6 separate regions of the Homo sapiens genome follow, and regions 2, 3, 4, 5 and 6 are each linked to region 1. Evidence: promoter capture Hi-C in 16 types of primary human blood cells and fetal thymus (Javierre and others, 2016). All regions are on one chromosome and are shown on one strand. The core of a region is centred on a gene start or on the middle of the fragment in contact, and the rest is flanking DNA. Distances in the headings are between cores, read along the strand shown.

Region 1 (3,298 bases), core at 300-2,799:
GCCCTGTGCGCAACAAAACTGCGCCCTCAAAATGACCCGAGGCTGTACCACAGCGCCCTCGCCAGGCAGCACCAGGCGGCACATGCTTTTACAGAGGTGGTGATGGTTGGGGATGGGTTTTCCAGGGACCCTCCTCTGCAGAAGACTCAGCAAGCCCAAAGGAGCACGAATCCTTTTTGTTAAAGGTAACATAGCCTCAGTGTAAGCTTGTAGAATATTTCCCTGCCACACTTTACAAATGAGAAAAAAAGAGGCTGCATGCAGTAGCCACCCACAAGCAGCGAAAAAGAGCAGTATTTGCTTTGGGAGGTTTTGATAAGAAGCCAGGCAGTTACTTTTCCCATCTATGTTGAAAACTCTGGTTTGGGCTTGCTGGCGAATGCCGTGCAAAGCTCATCTTTTGTTAGTCTGCCGAACAATGTTATTGGTTATAATTGGGGCAATTATGGGCTGCTTGAGGAAGCTAAACACAGATGTTTAAGCGCAGGATGGGGGTATTCAAGTCCAAAGCAGCTTGCTTTAAATAGTCCATTTCCCGAATCATCCTGCCTTACTTGAAATTCCCCCAGAACTTGCCCATGTTCAGAGCGAGATTCGGGGAGGAGGGGCTGGGTAGTGAAGCCGGGGAAGCAAGACTCGAGGGAGAGAGATGCACAAAGAGAGGAGGAAGAAAGAAGGTGGCTGAGAGAGCCTCGAGAGTTGGGATGCGGTGACTATGAACGGAGTATTCTGCATGACCTGGGCAAAGACCTTTAGGTGGGGGAGATGGGCAGGGGGAGAGGGATGCCAAGCAAGAGAAGAGCCCTCTAAATGAATCGGGTTCTGGGAGACCAAGGTCACGCCCGTAGAAATGCTCTCTGGAATTCACACGCCGTGGCGCTCAGCAGTGTGTGTATACAGGTGAAGCACACTCCCCAGATCTGGCGCTTCCCCATTATTTGTAGCAATTTCTGCTGGGGGCAGAAGGGAGAAGGGCTCCCTCCGGATTAAAAACTCCCATCTGGATGGCATCAAGTTCAGTGATAGGCGGAGAAGCAGCCTGCGCACCGCATCTGAGAGGAAAGGAAGCCACTGAGAGGAAACCCTCATGAGGGGGCCAGGGTCTTCCTGGGGGCCGCCCCGTGGAAGGCAAACCCCCTCCCAAGTGCCTGCCCCTCCTCTGGCCTCACTCCTCCAGCAGCCTCCTCTCGACACAGAGCAACAACCACGTAGGGGCCACAGCTGGGGAAGCAAAACTTTTCCTCATTTCCAAGTTCCCCTCTTTCTGCTTCTGCGTCTGTCTGAGGTTAAAAAAGAGACTCAGCCCTCCCCCGTTCCCCACCATCCAAGCGCTACAAAGGAGATGAATGAAGAAACCATCTCGCAAGAGGCCAGCAGCATCCACACTGGACAAAGGAGAGAGGCCGAGGAGCCAGCCCCTGGTGGCCCTGCCCTCCCGGAGCTCCACGCAGTTAGTCCAGTTAGTCGCGGTCGGGCTGGGGGCCCCGTGCAGTTGCCTACCTGAGAGCTGTCAGTCCCCGGCTCCCTCCGATGGATGCGAGGCTCGGTTCCGCTTTCTCAGCCACACCAGCATATATATCCTCTCCCCCACGCACAGCCCTCCCCTTCCCTGCCCACCTCCATGACACATACACACACTGACCCCCTTCAGCAACCAAACAGCAGAACCTGCAAGCCTTCCTGGCTGTTCCCTTCCCCCGGCTCTGCCATCAGACCTGTGACATCCCCACCTCCCCATCAATCCATTCTCAAGCCTGCTTCACCTGGACTCTGTTCAGCCAGGATCCCACAGCTGCCTTCCCTGTGCTTCCAGAGGCTCTGTGAGGACTGATGGGGAGCTCTGGCAAGTCAGAAAAAAAGCCTCCTGGTGACAGTGACGAGGCAGACCCCAAATCCTGGAGTCTCCTTGAGCAACCTTTTTGCCTGAGGAGTGAAGAATAGGAGGCAGGCAGAAGGGAGGGGAGCTCATGCCAAGCTCCTACCGACTCGGAGGAGCCCAGGGCTGAGCTAAGCCAAGCCCTGACCTAATGTCATTGCCCCTAACTAGGCCACTCAAGAGGTGGCTGCACCTGCCCTGGGCCAGGTCAGGAGGCATTTCCACAGGTGCCCACAGCATGGTGCAATGGAGAATGCTGAGACTCGAGGCTCAGATGGAAGTGTCTGAAATTCGGCTGTACAGTCAGAGCAAGGCACATCTCTTTGTGAACCTCAAGTCCTCCTTCCGGAAAATGAGTCTAATACTGCCCAGGATGGTTGTGAGTAGAAAAAGGAGATTCTGTTTGAATCTACAACACACGAGGCCCTTAATGAATGTGCTGCATCCTCCCTCTCCTCTCAGCCCGCTTTTCACACTGATTAGTACCACCTGGATGTAGAAATCCCATATCAGTGTCTGGTGTCACAACAGAGAGCTTTTAAAGCTTCTGCAACTTAGGGCATCACTACCGAGGGCCCTGGAGGCTCAGAAGCTCTGGAAGCTTCCCTGTCCCTTACTGCAGAGCCTCTTTGTCTTCTACAGCCGCCGGGGGTTGTGGGCTGCAGGAAAGGAGCTCACAGGCTGAAGGCACAGGCTTGAGGGTTTAGCATCCTTGTGGACCCCACGTTTCCTTACCTTAGGTGAATTTCACCATGACCCTGTCCTTGGTTTTCCTAAGAGGGTCTAAAATATTCCAGAATCCCAGGGTTTGAACCTATGTCATCCAAGGAGCTCAAGCACTCATTCATGTGGTTAAGTCCAGCTCTCTGGTCTACCCAGGACTGGGTGGAGAAGGATTGAGGGAAGCATCTGCCCTGACTGCAAATGGTATAGGGTTTCTTTTTGGGGTAATGGAAATGTTCTGGATTTAGACTGAGGTGATGGTTGCACAACATAGCAAGAATACTAAAACCCACCAAATTGTATGCTTTAAAATGGTGCATTTTATGTTATGGGAATTACATCTCCATAAAAAGAAAATAGGAAAAAGACAGCAAACATCTGCTCAGGTTAAGAGCAACAGGTTCTGAGAATAAAATTTCCCTTCCGTCTGTGTTCACAGCAAAAGGGCTCAGGAGACCAGCATACTCATGATTCTTCACTTAGATCTCTGTTGCCCAAACCTTACACTGCAGGTCGCAGCTACCATTTTGGACTCTTTGGGAAACCAGCATGTTCACTGACTGACACGGGGTCACTTTTGCATCCTGATGTACTTCAGTGTCTCAGGCCTGGAACCTGATTTCATACATGATGTGGCAGATATTGCAGGCTGCCTACCCAATCCCCATTTCCCTGTTCTTCCTTACTAAACGGTACCCT
Region 2 (3,298 bases), core at 264-2,763, 440 kb after region 1:
TCTGCATTCTGGGTCTTGGTGTCCTGTCTGTAACTAAAGGGCCTGCAGGCTGCATAATGGGTCTCCCAGCCTGGGCCCCCTGGGATTTAAGATGCCACTGCTCACCTGTGGAGAAGACCAGGTGGGTGTGGGGAGGGATTGGGGCTGATCCTCTCACACCCAGTTACCAGGCCCCCTGGTGACCTGTGGATGGCAGCCCACTGACGGCAGGGTTCCCCACATCATGGAGTGGAGCCGGGCGTACCTGCTGTCTTGCCTGAGGTCATTGCTGTCCAACCCACTGTGCTAAATGGCTACAGGGTGAGGGGAGAAAGTGGCATGTCCCTTCCAGATGGGGACTCGGAGCCAGGTCACATCCAGACTGGAGGTGGAAGCCTCCACTCCTCCCAGCCGCCTTCCTCTTCATCCCCATAAGGGGCTGCTGCAGTTCTTGGTCTGAATCTCATCCCATAGATCTCATTGGTAATTGACTGAAAGTGACCCTTGGTGAAATCTGTCGAGCCAGCTGGCAGGGAGTGCCGTCTTAAGGGCCAGAGTTTGAGGGGCGAGTTCGAAGGGATCCGGCACCATGAAGGGCAGCCTACCAGGAAAGAATACTGTTCTCCCACCTAAGGCTTGGGGCTGGATTCCAGCTGGTTTTGACTAAGGAAAACCACCGTTGTTGTTGATTAGAATAGGAACAGTCCTCAAATTCCCATTTCTAGCTCCGAAGAAGGCTTCTTCCTAATAAGTGGCAGTAAAACCTTTTGAGAAAAAAAATTATAAATTATTTTCAAGAAGCCAGAATAGGTAGTTTGAAGATCACAGGTCATGTTAGCCTGACTCTGCCAGTTGGTGAAAAGGCAGTGGGTGGGCTTCGAGTGCCAGGCCAGCGATCCTGTAGACTGTGGCTTCTTTCACTCCCCTGATCTGTTCCTCTTGACACAGGGAAGCTCTAAGCTTGTCACTTGATTCTTTAAACTGGTCGATAGGAAGCTGGACTTGCTTTCACGAATGCCCTATTTTTTTGCCCCATTATTTCCCTATCATGGTGCCCTAACAGGTCTCAGGTGCTATTCAAGACCTTGGCTGGTTGCAGGCCAGGTGTCACTAGCAGTATACAGAGGGCTGTAGGGGCCTGGGCAGGGAAGGGCTGGCATAACTGAGGCTTTCTGCCAGCCCAGGCTGCACCCATGTTCTCCTCCTCTCTACAAGCAGTTTCCAGGCACCTAGCATGGGCCAGGCTAGCTGCAGGGCTGGGGGGCAGAGCTGACCAAGCCCAGCCCTGGCCACAGCATGGGCAATGTAGAGGAGGATTCTAAACCATGTGCCAAGGGTTTTAATGCTGTTGTAGTCATGGGGCCGAGAGGAGGGAAAGCTGTCATTCCTGGCGGCAGGCAGAGCCACCCTGCCAGCATCCTACCCACTGGTGCCCCAACCCCACTCCCAGCTCGTCTGCTGTTGAGCCTGAAGGAGCCTCCCAGGTCCCTCTCGCTCTGCCTCCTAGCCTTCTTCTCACCCTCTTCCTTCCTGACAGTTTCCTCTCCCTAGCACCCCCAACACCCCGCCTCTGCTGTCCTTGTGTTCTGCACACTCTCTCTGGAGGCTGCCTCCACACCTGGGGCTTCAGTCACCCCCAGCTCTTCCCTCTGTCACAGTGCTCAGTGGAGCTCCAGACCCAAGTGTCCGGTGACCTTCCTGACAGGTGCACTCGGATGCCCCATGGGCTTCTCCAATGGCAGCTGTCACAATTGCACACATATCCTTCCCACCAGATCCTGTGCCTCTCTCATTGCCATCACCAGAACCGTCCTACCAGTCAGACCCCATCCCAGCCAGAACCCTGGGCCACCTCTTCCCTGTCACCACTCCCCCTCCCCACATCAGGTTGGTCCCCGAGTCCTGCAGATCCCACCAGTGTTCACTCCTCTGGCATTCCTTGAACCTGTCCCCACCTCGTCGTTCTTGCTGTCCTCCCCTTAGGAGATTAGCAGGTAGAGCAGTGGTTAGTGCCCCAGCCCTGGAGTCAAACCACCCATGTCAGAATCCCGGATCTGCCACTTGCAGCTGGAGACCTTGACTAGATTCCCTACCCTCTCTAAGCTTCAGTTCTTCCGCTATTGAAGAATTACTATAAATGCTAAAGGAGATCTTGGGTGTCAAGCAGTTAGCATGCACAGGCTCTGTTGTGCACGCTTATCTACAAGTGTGGGGTGGAGGTGGGGACAGTAGAGGCTCTAATCCTCCAGGAGTCACTCCTCACGGCCACCACACCTGCAGGCTAGCTCCTGTGGCCTTCCTTCTCATGGCTGCTGGGGATCTTTCTTTTTTTCTCTTTTTAAGAGATGAGGTCTCCCTCTGTCACCCATGGAGTGCAGTGGTGCAATCATAGCTTGCTGCAGCCTCGACCTCCCAGGCTCAAGCAATCCTCCTGCCTCAGCCTCCTGAGTAGCTGGGACCACAGGCACATGCTACTATGCCAAGCTAATTATTTCATTTTATTATTTTGGAGAAATAGGGTCTTGCTATGTTGCCCAGGCTGGTCTCAAACTGTTAGGGATCTTTCTAAAACGAGTGCCTGGTCACCTCACTCCCTGCCTGGGTCCTCAGAGGATTTTTATCGCTCTCAGAATCAAGCTGGATTTCCTTAGCTCAGCACCCAAGGATCTTCTTAGTTGGCCTCCTGCCCACCCCACACCTCTCCACACTGCACCTGCTGGTGGTTCTCGGGGCACAGATGGTGTGTTTCATGTCCCACCTCTTCTCCTGTGCTGCTCCTCCTGCTGGAAGGCTTTTCCCTCCCTCTTCAGCTAGGGAATTCCTACTCAGCTTTTAAAGGCAGCTCAATGATCTTTCCTGAGGGAAGCTTTTCTGGCTCCTTCCATGCTCCCTCACCCCTAAGATGGAAATAACCCTCCTCTATGATCCCGTCACATTCTTCTCTATCACAGCACTTCTTATACTCTCCTGATCCCTGCGATACATGGAAACATCTTGAGGGCTTCACCTTTGTAGTTCCAAAACCCAAAACTACCTGGGGCATAATAGGAGCTGGATAAATGTAGAAGGGAAGAAAGGAAGGAGGGAGGGAAAGTAGGAAGAAAAGGAGGGAGGAGTGAAGAGAGGGAGGGAGGGAGGAGTGAAGGGAGGGAGGGAGGGAGGGAGGAACAGAGGGAGAGAGGAAGGAAGAAAGAAGGGAGCGAGGAAGGAAGAATAGAAGGAAGGAAGGAATTCCAGTGCCTGCCAAACCTGAGTCCTCCCTGTCTCCAAGCCCTGACAGCTCTCCCAGGGGTCTGGCACCATAACATTTCTCCTGGAC
Region 3 (3,298 bases), core at 356-2,855, 400 kb after region 1:
GCCCAGGAGGGGAAAGGTAACCAGAGAGGGGAGGCAGCCCAGAAGGGGAAACCTGAACAAAGTCACATTCAGATGGCTCTCTTTGGCAAGGATGCAGGTTTTCTGGAATCACAGCATTTGGATGGAGTGGCAATACATCTGAAATCATCCAGTCCACTCTTTTTGTTTTGTAGTTGAGGATCCTGAGGCCAGAGAGGGGAGATGATTGGCTGAAGTCACAAAACCATCCAGTGACCTGGCTGGGACAAAAAAAATACATCTCTGGATTCATGAAAACAAGTTCGCAAAGCAGATTTGTCTGTGGGCTGATTTCGTGAGAAAAAACACAATCTATTAGAGAGTCCAGTTCAGCAAATATTTATAAAGGGATGACGTCACAGAGTGGGGCTTTGGATTCCAGGCTAATGCTGGGACTCTGGTTTCTGGGTAGTAGGGACCTGCTGAAAGTGGGGAACATCTCTGAGTGGAGTGACAGGTAAAGTGGCCTTTCTGTTCTACTGAGGGCTGAGGAGCATGGCCTGGGCTGAGGTCCCTGGGACGTTGTATGGTGAGCCAAGCTCTCATATCTCCTTCCACACGGACTCTGCTGGGAAGTGGGTGGAGTTGCCCCCAGCCCCGCCCACCACCCTCCATTGGGGGCTCGGAGGACGGTAGCAAGGGCAGTCCCAGCACCTTTCTGGGCCTGAGTCTCCTCGGCTGTGAAATGGGGCTGACAGTGCCTGCCTTGTCCACTTCTCAGGGTCACAGAGAGATGCCTTAAATGATGAAAAAAAGAGACCTCACAATTGTAAAGGTGATAGGGGCTCAGAATCCAGGCCCTGGTGACTTGAGGGTACTGGAAGTGGAGCTGTTTGCTGAGCCACTCTACCCTGTCAGCCGGCCTGTGGTTAGCATGGTTCTGGGGGTGGTTTTGACTGTACTGCTGGCTCCAGGCCAGGCTCATCAGCTGTCCTCATAATTTGCTCTTGGCACATCAGTTCCTGGATTCCAGCCCACACAGGTCCCCTACCCCGTCATGTGTTCTGGGATCAGGGAAGGGAGAAGGCATGGGTTTCCCCTCATTGGCTGATCCCCAGGAAAACCCCGGTGCTTCTCCTGAATGCCTGGTCCCAGACCCTTCGTCCCACTGGGAAGATGCTTCTGGTGGGAGCAACTGCACTGAGGGGAGCATGAGGGGAGTGGGCTAGATGAGTGGACAAAGCCTGAGCAGGGACCCCAGGACCCTGCTCCTCCTTGTCCCAGCCACCTCCATGCCCTGGCCTGCCTTGGTGACAGAAAAGATGAGAAATGAGATGGTGTAGAAAGTTGAGAAGTGAAAAAGCTAACCTGGGTACCTCTTGGAACAACAGATGTCATGGCACTTCTGCTACTACACGTTAGTCATTCTTCAGATCCTGATTGTTTGCTGGGTGTGTGCAAGGCACAGGCCACAGACAGTGCCCTACAGAAGGTTCTGTCCTCCTTGGGAACCACAGTTCGAGGTGGGGGATAGTGCCCAGGGAGTGGGCAGAGGTCACCTGACCAGGCTCCGGGTGCTCCCACAGGGGCATTGTGCACGAGGATCTCCCCACCTCCTTCTAGCTCTGAGATTTGGGGGCTCTGCCCATGGTACACTAAGAGACCAGAAGGGTGGGTGTATTCGTCTGTTCTCACACTGCTAATAAAGACATACCTGAGATTGGGTAATTTATAAAGAAAAAGAGGTTTAATGGACTCACAGTCCACATGGCTGAGGAGGCCTCACAATCATGGCAGGAGGTGAAGGAGGAGCAAAGGCACATCTTACATGGCAGCAGGCAAGAGAGTGTGTGCAGAACTCCCCTTTATAAAACCATCAGACCTCATGAGACTTATTCACTATCACGAGAACAGCAAGGGAAAGACCCACCCCCATGATTCAGTTACCTCCCACTGAGTCCCTCCCACAACACATGGGAATTATGGGAGCTACAGTTCAAGATGAGATTTGGGTGGGGACACAGCCAAACCAAATCAGTGGGCATGAAGGCAGTCTCAGGACTAAGAGGGACTGGACTCTTAGGATTTGGCTAATGTTCAGGGACACTATGAGGAGAGCGTTTGTGCAGAGGTGGAGGAAAGTTGGTGACCATGAGCACCGAGCTGTAAGTTTGCAGCAGAAGGGGTCAGATCGTGAGTGATCTGCAGGGGCCTTGACAGGGGAAGCTGCACCTGTGGTGCAGTGAGGGGCCTTCCCGTGCTCTGAGTCCCTTTGGTTGCTTTGTTGTTTCAGAGAGATGGATCAGACAGCAAGGCACACATGGGCTGGAGAGAGACGGAGACAGGGAGGTTCTTATAAAGGCCAGAGCCAGGCCATAAGGACCTGACGAGGGTGGAGGCAGTGAGGAAGGAGGTGGAGACATGAGAAGGACCTTCCTTTATGAGAAGCCTCGAATCACAGATGCATGTAGCTGGAAAGGGATGCAAAAGGGGGACAGGAAAGAAGAATCAGAGCAGGCTCAAGATTTCCAGCTTGGGTTTCTGAAGAAAGGATAGTGTCAGTAAACACACTAAAAAGTCAAATCCTGAGATTGCTTCACCTACAGGCAGCATCAGTGATTTAAAGATCACTTGGTCCTCGGAGCCCCTGGCAGCTCGGCCCCTCGAGGCTCTGGCCAAATCATCAGCCCTTCTGAGTCAGCCAGGCCTGTACCACCTGAGGATGTGATGAAGGCTTGGGAATTGGTGCCCACCTTTACTGCCCACCCCACCTTCTTCCCAGTTAATCTCCAGTAAAGACCTTCATAACCACATAGTTATGTTTAAAACAAAATCCATCTGTAGCATGTTCTTGAGCCCTGCCTCTCCTTGGATGACCCAGCCAAACTCCACAGGGTGATTTCAGGTGCGCTTGGAATACCCGGAAGTTGTCATCCTATAATGGTTCTGAGGAGGTGTTATGCAAAGTGAGGAGGCGTTATGCAGAGTGAGGTGATCGGGATGGCCCCCCTCACTCAAGGCTTTGAAGCCCTTCTCTAGTCATCATGCCACTGAATCCACTCAGTCCTCACTACAACTGCACATTTAATAGAATCAGAACTTGAACCCAAGACTCAATATCCATACTCAATGCCCACCTTCCAGATGATGTCTACCACCCAGAGGCCCTACATCAGGGTCTTTGGGCAGCATCCTCCCTTGGCGAGAGTGACTCCTGGGAAGACCCCCCTGCAGGTTGCACCTGCATCTGAGGGGCAGGTGAAATTGGAGGGTGCAGTCCCTTGCATCTGTGACCAGCTCAGTTCCTGGAGCACCCGGGGTGGTGGAGGCAGAGAGGAGA
Region 4 (3,298 bases), core at 562-3,061, 370 kb after region 1:
AGAGAAGAAGGCTGCACTCATAATTCCACTCCTCTAAAGTCAGTTGTTTTCACGAATCCTGGTTTTCTTTTAATCCTTTGTGTGTATGTGCTTGCTTCCTGTGATAGCGTATGCATGTCCCACATTGTTACATGGCAGACTTCATGGTTGTCATTTTTAGAGCTTCATTAAAGTTCATCTGGTTAATGTACCATGATTTAATTGTTCCTAATTGCTCATCCACGACTTCTCTAGGTTTTCACTGCTACAAATAAGAGAGTGATAAATTTCTCACTGCTGTAGCATTTCCCTTCTTTTGGGTTACTTCTTAAATTCCCAGGAGAGAGACTATTTTGCAAAGGATGTGAACATTTTTATGGCTATTGATACTTTTTGCCAAATTGCCTTCCAAAAATATTTGCACAGTCATCAGCAATGTTTAAACACACTAGCGTTCACCACGGTCTTGCCAGCATGATGTAGCACTGTTCCATTACTTTTAGAGATTTCCTTTTTTAAAATTTGCATTTCTTTGATAGCTAATAATCTCATCAAGCTTTCCATACATTTGATTATTCATTGTGTCATCTCTTAAGGAGACTGGCTGTTTAAGCCTTTTGCCTGGTTACTATGTGAGGTCAAATCAGGCATTTATAAAGTGTCTAATACATACTCACTACCATGGGGTGCTATAGGGGGACCAAGGAAGTATAAGACCTGGTTCTTATCTTCCAGAAGGCTATGATTGACACTCACATCTTATTTACTTGTTGTTGATTTCTTTGTACCCAACCTGCTGCTTTGCACAACCTGTATGCTTCATAAATCTTTATGTAGTTAAATCCCGGATGACATGTTTGTTGTCTTTGTGGTTCACAGAGATCAGCACTCAATTTAAAGGAATGCGGAATCAGAACCCAAAATAAGGCTGAAACCCAGAGAGATAGCTTAGACCTGGTCAATTAATATGGACACACATGAAGTAGTGCCCCACAAATGGGGAAGCCACGGCTTGACATCAGTTTTTAAAGCAAGGTTGAGGGTTTGAGTTTGGCAGGATGCAGTCTATGAGTCAGTGTGTGACATGCCTGCCACCAAAAGCTATCGTGATCAAAGTTACGTTCATAGAGAATAAGGGAGGCACCAGTATTATTTGGCTCCATGCAGGTTAGACAACTCCTCAGTGTTTCCTTTTTTTTTTTTCAATTTATTATTATTTTTTTACAGTCTCATTCCCATCACCCAGGCTGGAGTGCAGTGGGCACAATCACAGCTCACTGCAGCCTCTTCTTCCTGAACTCAGATGATCCTCCTACCTCAGCCTCCTGAGTAGCTGGCACTACAGGCCTATACCACCACACCTGGCTAATTTTTTGTATTTTTAGTAGAGATGGTTTTGCCATGTTGCCCAGGCTGGTCTTGAGCTCCTGGGTTCAAGTCATCCACCTGCCTCAGTTTCCCAGAGTACTGGGATTACAAGCATGAGTCACAGCGCCTGACCTCAATTATTTTTTTTTGAGACAGGCTCTCGCTCTGTCGCCCAGACGAGTGCAGTGGCGTGATCTCGGCTCACTGCAACCTCTGCCTCCCAGGTTCAAATGATTCTCCCACCTCAGCCTCCCAAGTATCTGGGATTGCAGGCAACTGCCACCATGCCCAGCTACTTTTTTTTTTTTTTTCTATTTTTACAAAATGGAGTTTCACCATGTTGGCCAGGCTGGTCTCAAACTCCTGACCTCAGGTGATCCATCCACCTTGGCCTCCCAAAGTGCTAGGATTACAGGCATGAGCCACCATGCCTGGTCTTAATTTTTTATTTTTTAAAAAATGTTAAACCTACAGAGAAGTTGGAAGCTATAAAGAGTGCTATATACCCTTCATTTTAATATTGTTAACATTTTATGCCATTTGCGTGTACCTGCTCTCTCTTCTCGCCCCACGTTTGTTATTACCATTTTTAATTTTTGTGGAACCATTTGACAGTGAGTTGCAAACTTCACCCCTAAATATGTTAGTGTGTATTTACAAGAACAAGGACATTGTCTTATATCACCACTATACAATTACTGAATTCAAGAAATCTAATGCTGATTATAAATACAGTATATCCATATTTAATTTTCTTCCGTTGCTCCAAGAATGTCCTTTATAACCATTTTTAAAACTCCTGATGCAGGATCCAATCCAGAATATACATGTGGTTTTCATGGCTCCATAGTCTTTTCTAGATGGGTTCCTTGCCTTTCACTGTATTTCATGACATGGACATTTTAAAGAATGCAGGCCAGTTGCTTGCTATCCTGTCCTTTAACTTGGGTTTGTTTAATTGTTTTCCCATGATTGACGTAGGTTAAACCTTCTTGGCAGTAACACTTTCTAAGTCATTTGAGGAGGTGGATTGTGTCAATTTGTTCCTGTACTGGTAATGGTAAATTTGGTTAAGGTAAATTTGGTCAGAATAATCTACTGTAAAGCTATCTTTTATTCCCTCTGATTAAGAAGTGATCTGTGGGGAGACACTCTGAGGCTGTGTAAATACACTGATTGCCAGCAATCCTTCACTCCATGATTTTAGCATCCACTTACAATTCTTGCCCGAGTCAGTTATTACAAAGGTGGTCATCAAATGTGGCTTTTCTAACCCTCTTCATTGCTGTTTTCCTCTCTGACCGCTGCAATGTAAGGTGGCTGCAGACAGTGGTGTGCTGGTCAGCTCTGATTACGTGCGTCTTTTCCTAACTCCGTAGTCAATGATGTCATGTTGGTAGCTTGAAGTCGGTCATAGTGGGATATTTACACCTCAAACATTGGCAAGCACCACAGCTTAGGCTTCTCCCCAACCCCTTGGAGAACCAGTTGTTAAACATTTATCAGCATACCGCTGGATGCATTTAAGCTAAAACACATTCAGGAAAGAATGACTTTGGCAATAAAGGGACTTTATAATTATTTTTAGTCAGAGTCTCACTCCCGTCACCCAGGCTGGAGTGCAGTGCTCACTGCAGCCTCCATTTCCCAGGCTCAGGTGATCCTCCCACCTCAGCCTCCGGAATAGCTAGGACTACAGGCTCACACCACCATGCCTGGTTTGTAAAAACACAAGCTTTTTGTATTTTTAGTAGAGACAGGGTTTTGCCATGTTGGCAAAGGAAACCTTAAGGAAAGGGGATCCATCTTCAAATATTTAGAGGGCTATCTTGTGGGGTACCCTCATTAGTTAGGATGCAACCTCCTAACACACCCCACCCTTCCAACCTCTTGGTGCTTCTATGTTGGATGGCTCCTTCAAGGCATCACAGGACTGCACCTCTCCCACCAC
Region 5 (3,298 bases), core at 365-2,864, 290 kb after region 1:
TTAGATACACAAGGAGTGGAGGACTGTGTAACTGTTAGAAAAAATAAAGCAGCTTTATAGGTAGTGGCATGAAATGATCTCCAAAATATATTACAAAGTGGAAAACAGCAAAGTGAGTAAATGTATATGGTATGTTGCCATTTGTGAGAGGGGAAAAAAGGAAATACATATGTATATGTTTGTATGTGCATAAAAATCTCCATGGGCTACATAGAACACTGGCAGTACTCGTTGCCTCTAAGGAGGGGAACTGGAAGGCTGGAGGGTAGGAGAGGGTGGGAGCCTTGCTCTGCACCCTGTATATTTTGTGCCTTTTATATTTTATACCACATCCATAGTTGCCTGCTGCAATGAACAGATCTGATGCCATTTGAGTTTGCCAGGGTGAAAGTAGACAGAGCTGTTCCCAAAGTCAAAGCCACAATGGCTGCTTCTAACAATCCGTTCTGCACTTCTCCATCTCTCTGGGAATCTTTATGACCCATTTATGGCTGGTTAGATGGACCTCTAACCTGATCTAACGGACTCCAGGGAAGGAGATACAACACCCTCACACTATAATGTACTGGACTCTCATGACCTTCTGTCCAGGCCTTTATAGGAATCTAAGTTTTAAGATGATAGTCATTCCAATGTGCCTGCTTTAAAGAACTCCCGCTTGCCAGAGATCTTGACCAGCTTCAGTGAAGCTTCCCCGCATCCCAGCCCTGAATAACCACTCTGTCTCTGAACTTCAAGAATTATAGCAGGTGCACTTGACAGATGGTGCTCCCCTCAGTTTGATGTCAAGTGCAACTGCTATAATTTAAGCCTATTTCCTTCTCTTCACCATCGACAGCAAATATACATCATGTCAGGGGGTCATACTTTATAAAGAAATCTAAAAGGCAGTCCCTGTTGTCAGGGCCTTACCTGGTTGGTAAGACAAGATGTGTAAGAATGTGCGTTGTAAGACTGGGGAGTTTACATTCACTCAGCAAGCGATTCTGATCACGTCCTGGGTGCCAGGCAGTGTTCTGGGTGCTGAGGACACAGTGGTGGCCAATACAGGCAAGAGTCCCCACCTTCATGGAGCTCACAGCCCAGTGGGTGGAAGGCAGGCAGTCAGCAAACTAATAAGTGAAATATGTGGCAGGGAAGCGAAACACAGAAAGGGAAGAAGGGATGCTGAGGTACGGGACAGGGTGGTGGGACAGGGTGGTAAAGGAAGGTCTCCCTGGGAATGTGACACTTAAGCAAAGCCCTGAGGGAGGGAACCCACTCAGACTTCAGATCGTTATTCTTGAAGTTCAGAGACAGAGTGGTTATTCAGGGCTGGGACGCGGGGAAGCGTCACTGAAGCTGGGTCCTGGGGGAAGCCTCAAAGGTTAGGTTGATTTCAGAGGCAGTGGGGAGAAGGGAGGCCTTCCAGATATGGGACAGAACAAAAAGACTCCGGGTCCTAACTCCCCTCTGCTCATGAGTCCCATCCCTGGCCAGGCTCAGGGCCAACTAACCTGAGTCACCCTCGGGCACAGAAAGCCAAGGGGGATTAGAAAGGCATTCAGGGCTCAGTCTGAAGTGTCCCTTCAAAGGGGACTGCAATTAGTCAGCGTCCTCCAGATAAACAGAACCAGTAGGATGTGTGGATAGATAGAGGAAGAGATTTATTTTAAGAAGTTGGCCCACACGATGGTGGAGGCTTGGTGAGCCCAAAATCTGATGCAGGGAGGCCCACAGGACAGAGACTCCAGAAAGAGAGGCAGTTCGAGTCCAGAGGCCATCCCTGCAGAACCAGGCAGAGTCGATGTTGCAGACAAAGGCCCAACCAAGGCTTGGCCGGGCACGGTGGCTCATGCCTGTAATCCCAACACTTTGGGAGGCCGAGGCGGGTGTATCAACTGAGGTCAAGAGTTCGAGACCAGCCTGGCCAACGTGGTGAAACCCTGTCTCTACTAAAAATACAAAAAAAAAAAAAAAAAAAAAGAAAGAATTTAGCTAGGCGAGGTGGTGGGTGCCTGTAATCCCAGCTAGTTGGGTGTCTGAGGCAGAAGCACTTGAGCCTGGGAGGCAGAGGTTGCAGTGAGTCAAGATCATGCCATTGTACTGCAGACTTGGTGACAAGAGCAAAACTCCATGTCAAAGGCCCAAGGCTGTCACTGGAGCATCCCTGTTAAATGTGAATCTCATCCAAAAACACCCTCCCAGAGGCATCCAGACTCACGTTTAATCCGGTTTCTGGGCCCTGTGACCTAAACAAGTTGACACATAAAACTAACCATTGTGAGAACATGGTTTGATTACAGATCATGGGATTAAAACCTGAGATGCCAGAAAGAGAACATTCACTGAGAATGGGTTGTGCTGGGAGGATAGGGATTGGGGTGGGGGGAAGAGGGGGAGCCGCCTGGAGAGGAATTAGAGGAGGTGTTATTGTGCAACATGCTTTGTATATCACACACCTGTGAAGCCTTAATACAGACCCAGTGACTTCTCAGGGTTTTTCTTATGGGTAGGTTTGGGTTTCTTTTGAGGGTGACCCCATGCTGAGAAAGCTTTCTGGTAAGAGGAGGAACACCTGCTTTGATGTCTGATCTGTAAGCACCACTCCAGATCTCATATTCTGGGACAAGTGACAGGATTGTTGGGGGATTTGCTTTCTGGAGACGTTTCTGCAACGGACACCAAGTCCTGATGTGAGCTTTCTGCTCTCCTGTAGATGTCGGGAGTGAATACAAGGAGATGGAGAAGCTGCACAGAAGCCTGAGGGAGGTCGCGGAGAATGCACGGCTGAGGAAGGGCATGCAAGAATTCCTCCTAAGGGCATCCCCCAGCAAGGCTGGCCCCCCCGGGACATCACTGTAACTCCTGGGGCTTAGTCCCAATGGATGAAAAATCAGCCCAGAGCCAGAGAATTAGAATTACTTTTTTTGTTCTTAAGAGACAAGATCTATCTACCTCTGTTGCCCAGGCTGGAGTGCAGTGGCACCATCACAGCTCACTGCAGCCTCGAACTCCTAGGCTCAAGCGATCCTCCAGCCTCAGCCTCCAGAGCAGCTGGGGCTACAGGTACAGGCCACCACACCTGGGTAATTTTTTTTTTTTTTTTTTTGAGACAGAGTCTCGCTGTGTCACCCAGGCTGGAATGCAGTGGTGCAATCTCGGCTCACTGCAACCTCCACCTCCTGGGTTCAAGAAATTCTCTGCCTCAGCCTCCCAAGTAGCTGGGATTATAGGCGACTGCCACCACACCCGGTTAATTTTTATATTTTTAGTAGAGACGGGGTTTCATCATCTTGGCCAGGCTGGTCCTGAACTC
Region 6 (3,298 bases), core at 409-2,908, 280 kb after region 1:
CTCGCAGTTTCTCTGGGCCACTCGTTCAATCCACAAATGTCTATGGGTTTTGCTCTCTGTGCTGTGCCCTGGAATAAAAGAGCATGACTAAGAGCCTGCTCCTTTGGCAAGTTCCTATCCAGGGAAGAAGACACAGGGAACGAGAGAGATGTCATACGGCAGGAGGCAGGAGACGTGCTGTGGTGCAGGACTGTGGGAAGTGCAGTGGGAGCACAGGACAGAGAGCCCCACCTCTACCTGGGGACTCAGGGAAGGTGCCTCATGGGAAGGACCTTTGAGCTTTGTCTCCGAAGTAACAAAGATGAAATCAGCAAGGCCCAGAGGGCACAAGATTGACAGCATGTTTGGGGAATAGCAGCAAGTCCAGGGGTAGCTACTTGGCAGGATGTGTCAGGCAAACAGAGATGGTGGTGCTAGAGAGGTGGAGTGAGTTCTGGCTATGAGGTGCCTTAAAGGCCAAGCTGGGGAGTGTGGCTCTGACTGCTGCAGGCACTGTGGGGCCCACCAAGGTTCCCATGTGGGGAACAACACTATGAGTTCCCAGTCTGGAACTGTATTAGTCCATTTTCATGCTGCTGATAAAGACATACCCGAGACTGGGTAATTTATAGAGAAAATGAGGTTTAATGGACTCACAGTTCCATGTGCCTGGGGAGGCCTCACAATCATTGTGGGCAAAAGGCATGTCTTACATGGTGGCATGTTTTATAAGGTTTTATAAGGTTTCTCCTTATAAAACCATCAGATCTCATGAGACTCATTCACTACCATGAGAACAGTATGGGGAAAGCCAATCCCATGATTCAATTATCTCCCACCAGGTCCCCCCCACAACACGTGGAATTATGGGAGCTACAATTCAAAATGATATTTGGGTGGGTACACAGCAAACCATATCAGGCACCTAGGGGTCAAGGCTTTCTCTGGTGGTCACTTCCTTGTATTATTTGAATATATGTTTTCTCCCTGATTAGACTGTATTCTTTGAAGAAGGAAGCATGGATTTATTTTTGTGGTCCTGTAGCTTTGCTATGCAAAGTGTGGTCCATAGCTCGGAAGACCAGCATTACTTGAGGACTGGCTAGAAATGCAGAATCCCAGGACCTTGGATTTCAGATTTTAAGATCTCCTGTTGATTTGTATGCATGTTAAAATTTAAGAAGCATTATCCTTAAAAACTCCTTCGTGCAGAGTCCAAGCCCGTGAAATGTTTGTTGAATCAGATGTCATTGGAAAAATCTGTTTTAATAACAATTGGATTTCTATGTGGATAGCTACTTCCCCAAATAACCTGATGGATTACACAGCTGAAATAAGTTGCTGAATAAGCAGAGACTGTGATTTTTAAGAAATGAAATAAGTTGCACCAGGCAGGTATTTGTTCTATTCTCTAACCCCACAAAGCCTAAAGGGGTCTGTGCACTGAGTGAGGTCTTATGGGGACAATAAAGAGAAGTCAGCTCTGAGTGATAAGCTGAATCTTGAGCTGGTGACAAGCTTAAAGAAAGCAAAGCTTCAGGAGAAGGTGCCCTTAGGGAGGGGGTGGCCTGATTCTTTTATGGTCCTTGTCCCTAGAATGAACACTTGCACATGAGTGTCCTGCGGAGATTTGCGGAAGAGAAGGTTGAGCTGCTGGAGAAGGCCATCGCACAGTGCTTCGCCTGCATGGAGCAGCCTCTGCAAGAAGGGGTCAGGACCGCCAGGACTTCTTACCGCTGCATCCTCAGAGCATGCTTGGTGGTGAGTGACCCTTCCAGGGAAAACTCAGATATTCCAGGAGGCCTGCCCGATCCCCAAGCTTCTTTTGCATCATCCCATTCCCTTCAAAAGAGGTAAAGAGTTAGCGGGCCGGGCATGGCGGCTCATGCCTGTAATCCCAGCACTTTGGGAGGCCGAGGTGGGCGGATCACAAGGTCAGGAGATCAAGACCATCCTGGCCAACATGGTGAAACCCCGTCTCTACTAAAAATACAAAAATTAGCCAGGTGTGGTGGCGTGTGCCTGTCATCCCAGCTGCTCAGGAGGCTGAGGCAGGAGAATTGCTTGAACCAGGGAGGCGGAGATTGCAGTGAGCCGAGACTGCACTACTGCACTCCAGCCTGGCGAGAGAGTGAGACTCCATCTCAAAAAAAAAAACAAGAACAAAAAACAAAAAACAAAAAAAAAGAGCCAGAGGAGGTTAGGAGAGAGTGAAAATTGCACATAACAGTTGTTCATCTGTGTCTTGAAAGGACCAAGGAAGGTACACAGTTCAGCAAAGACAGAGTGGGAATCTGGGATCTGAGGGTCTTGGTTGGAGTACCAGCTCCACCAAACATCCACCTTGTAGCCCCGGGCAAAGCCCTAGACCCATTTTTTAAAAATTTATTGGTTTTCTACTATAAAATGAGGATGCTCAATGCTTGCCCTACCTATCTGGTAGTGTTGATATCAGTATCAATGAGCTTACACAATGAGGAAACATCTTGTAACCTCTCAATTGGCATACAAGTTGTGGTTTTATTTCTTAATTAGTTGTATAGAGTTTCTGAAGGATGAAAATGTAAGTGTAAGGCAGTATTTATCTAAGACTAAGGGGTGAAAAAAGAGGCCTATTGTATTAGTCTGCTTGGGCTGCCATAACAAAATCCTATAGACTGGGTGGCCTGAACCACAGACATCGATTTTCCCATAGTTCTGAAGGCTGAAAGTCCAAGATCAAGGTGTCAGCAGGGTGAGTTCTGAGGCCTCTCTCCTCTTCTGGAGAAGGTAGATGGCCACATTTTTGCTGCATCCTCACGTGGCCTCTTCACTGAGCACGCACACTCCTGGGATCTCTTTCTCTTCCCAGAAGGACACCACACCTGTCAGATCAGGGCCCCACCCTTATGACCCCATTTAACCTTAATTACCTCCTTACCAGCTGTGTCTCCAAACACAGTCACCCTGGTGGTTAGGGCTTCGCATGTGAACCTCAAGGGTCACACTTTAGTCCATAGCACCCATTAAGGGGAAGATGTGATGGACAACACTGTATGACTTGGTGTCCCCCCGTGCTGGGAGAAGTGCATGGATGGTCTGTGGTTGTAGTTTTTAGTGGGCCTTGGAAAGTTGGAATGTGAGCAGTGGAAAATGTGTGAAAAGGTGAGTGTGATGGGGTGGTTGGCTTCCTGGAGGCTTTTCTATGTGCACCGATGATACCGGCTTTCTAGCACCTGGCCTCTTCTGGGTGTTGTTATCTGTGTGCTTTGTGTAAAAGCTTGTTTAAATGTCTAGATGAGCCTGAGTGTGGTGGCTTGTGCCTGTATTCCCAGCACTT

What was found. Contacts are between HindIII fragments. The CHiCAGO score rates a contact against its expected background, and 5 or more counts as called.
Region 2: a contact is called between a fragment that was not itself captured here and the fragment with the promoter of PNOC in region 1, in 4 of 17 cell types (erythroblasts, M1 macrophages, M2 macrophages and 1 more). The highest score is 6.7, in erythroblasts.
Region 3: a contact is called between a fragment that was not itself captured here and the fragment with the promoter of PNOC in region 1, in 2 of 17 cell types (M2 macrophages and M1 macrophages). The highest score is 5.5, in M2 macrophages.
Region 4: a contact is called between a fragment that was not itself captured here and the fragment with the promoter of PNOC in region 1, in 1 of 17 cell types (M1 macrophages). The highest score is 5.4, in M1 macrophages.
Region 5: a fragment that was not itself captured here is called in contact with the fragment with the promoter of PNOC in region 1 in 6 of 17 cell types (M0 macrophages, endothelial precursors, M1 macrophages and 3 more); the score reaches 7.3 in M0 macrophages.
Region 6: a contact is called between a fragment that was not itself captured here and the fragment with the promoter of PNOC in region 1, in 11 of 17 cell types (M0 macrophages, endothelial precursors, M1 macrophages and 8 more). The highest score is 10.9, in M0 macrophages.

What each region holds. Positions count from the first base shown.
Region 1 is chr8:28,315,519-28,318,816 of GRCh38, reverse strand. PNOC (prepronociceptin) reads right to left here and starts at 1,549. Exons shown (of 4, transcript NM_006228.5): 1 at 1,501-1,549. RefSeq lists enhancers at 1-43, 44-556. The HindIII fragment of the contact is 2,214 bases long and covers 209-2,422 here.
Region 2 is chr8:27,875,021-27,878,318 of GRCh38, reverse strand. The region is part of intron 8 of SCARA5 (scavenger receptor class A member 5); the gene reads left to right. Among named protein-coding and RNA genes, the nearest start is that of MIR4287, 9.4 kb to the left of the region's middle. RefSeq lists an enhancer at 194-695. The HindIII fragment of the contact is 1,143 bases long and covers 942-2,084 here.
Region 3 is chr8:27,912,663-27,915,960 of GRCh38, reverse strand. The region is part of intron 4 of SCARA5 (scavenger receptor class A member 5); the gene reads left to right. Among named protein-coding and RNA genes, the nearest start is that of MIR4287, 28 kb to the right of the region's middle. The HindIII fragment of the contact is 4,483 bases long and covers 1-3,298 here.
Region 4 is chr8:27,943,066-27,946,363 of GRCh38, reverse strand. The region is part of intron 3 of SCARA5 (scavenger receptor class A member 5); the gene reads left to right. Among named protein-coding and RNA genes, the nearest start is that of SCARA5, 48 kb to the left of the region's middle. The HindIII fragment of the contact is 2,547 bases long and covers 538-3,084 here.
Region 5 is chr8:28,022,863-28,026,160 of GRCh38, reverse strand. It overlaps NUGGC (nuclear GTPase, germinal center associated), which reads left to right. Exons shown (of 19, transcript NM_001010906.2): 19 at 2,699-3,298. The coding sequence ends at 2,844. Among named protein-coding and RNA genes, the nearest start is that of SCARA5, 32 kb to the right of the region's middle. The HindIII fragment of the contact is 1,845 bases long and covers 692-2,536 here.
Region 6 is chr8:28,039,493-28,042,790 of GRCh38, reverse strand. It overlaps NUGGC (nuclear GTPase, germinal center associated), which reads left to right. Exons shown (of 19, transcript NM_001010906.2): 13 at 1,576-1,740. Among named protein-coding and RNA genes, the nearest start is that of NUGGC, 43 kb to the left of the region's middle. The HindIII fragment of the contact is 285 bases long and covers 1,516-1,800 here.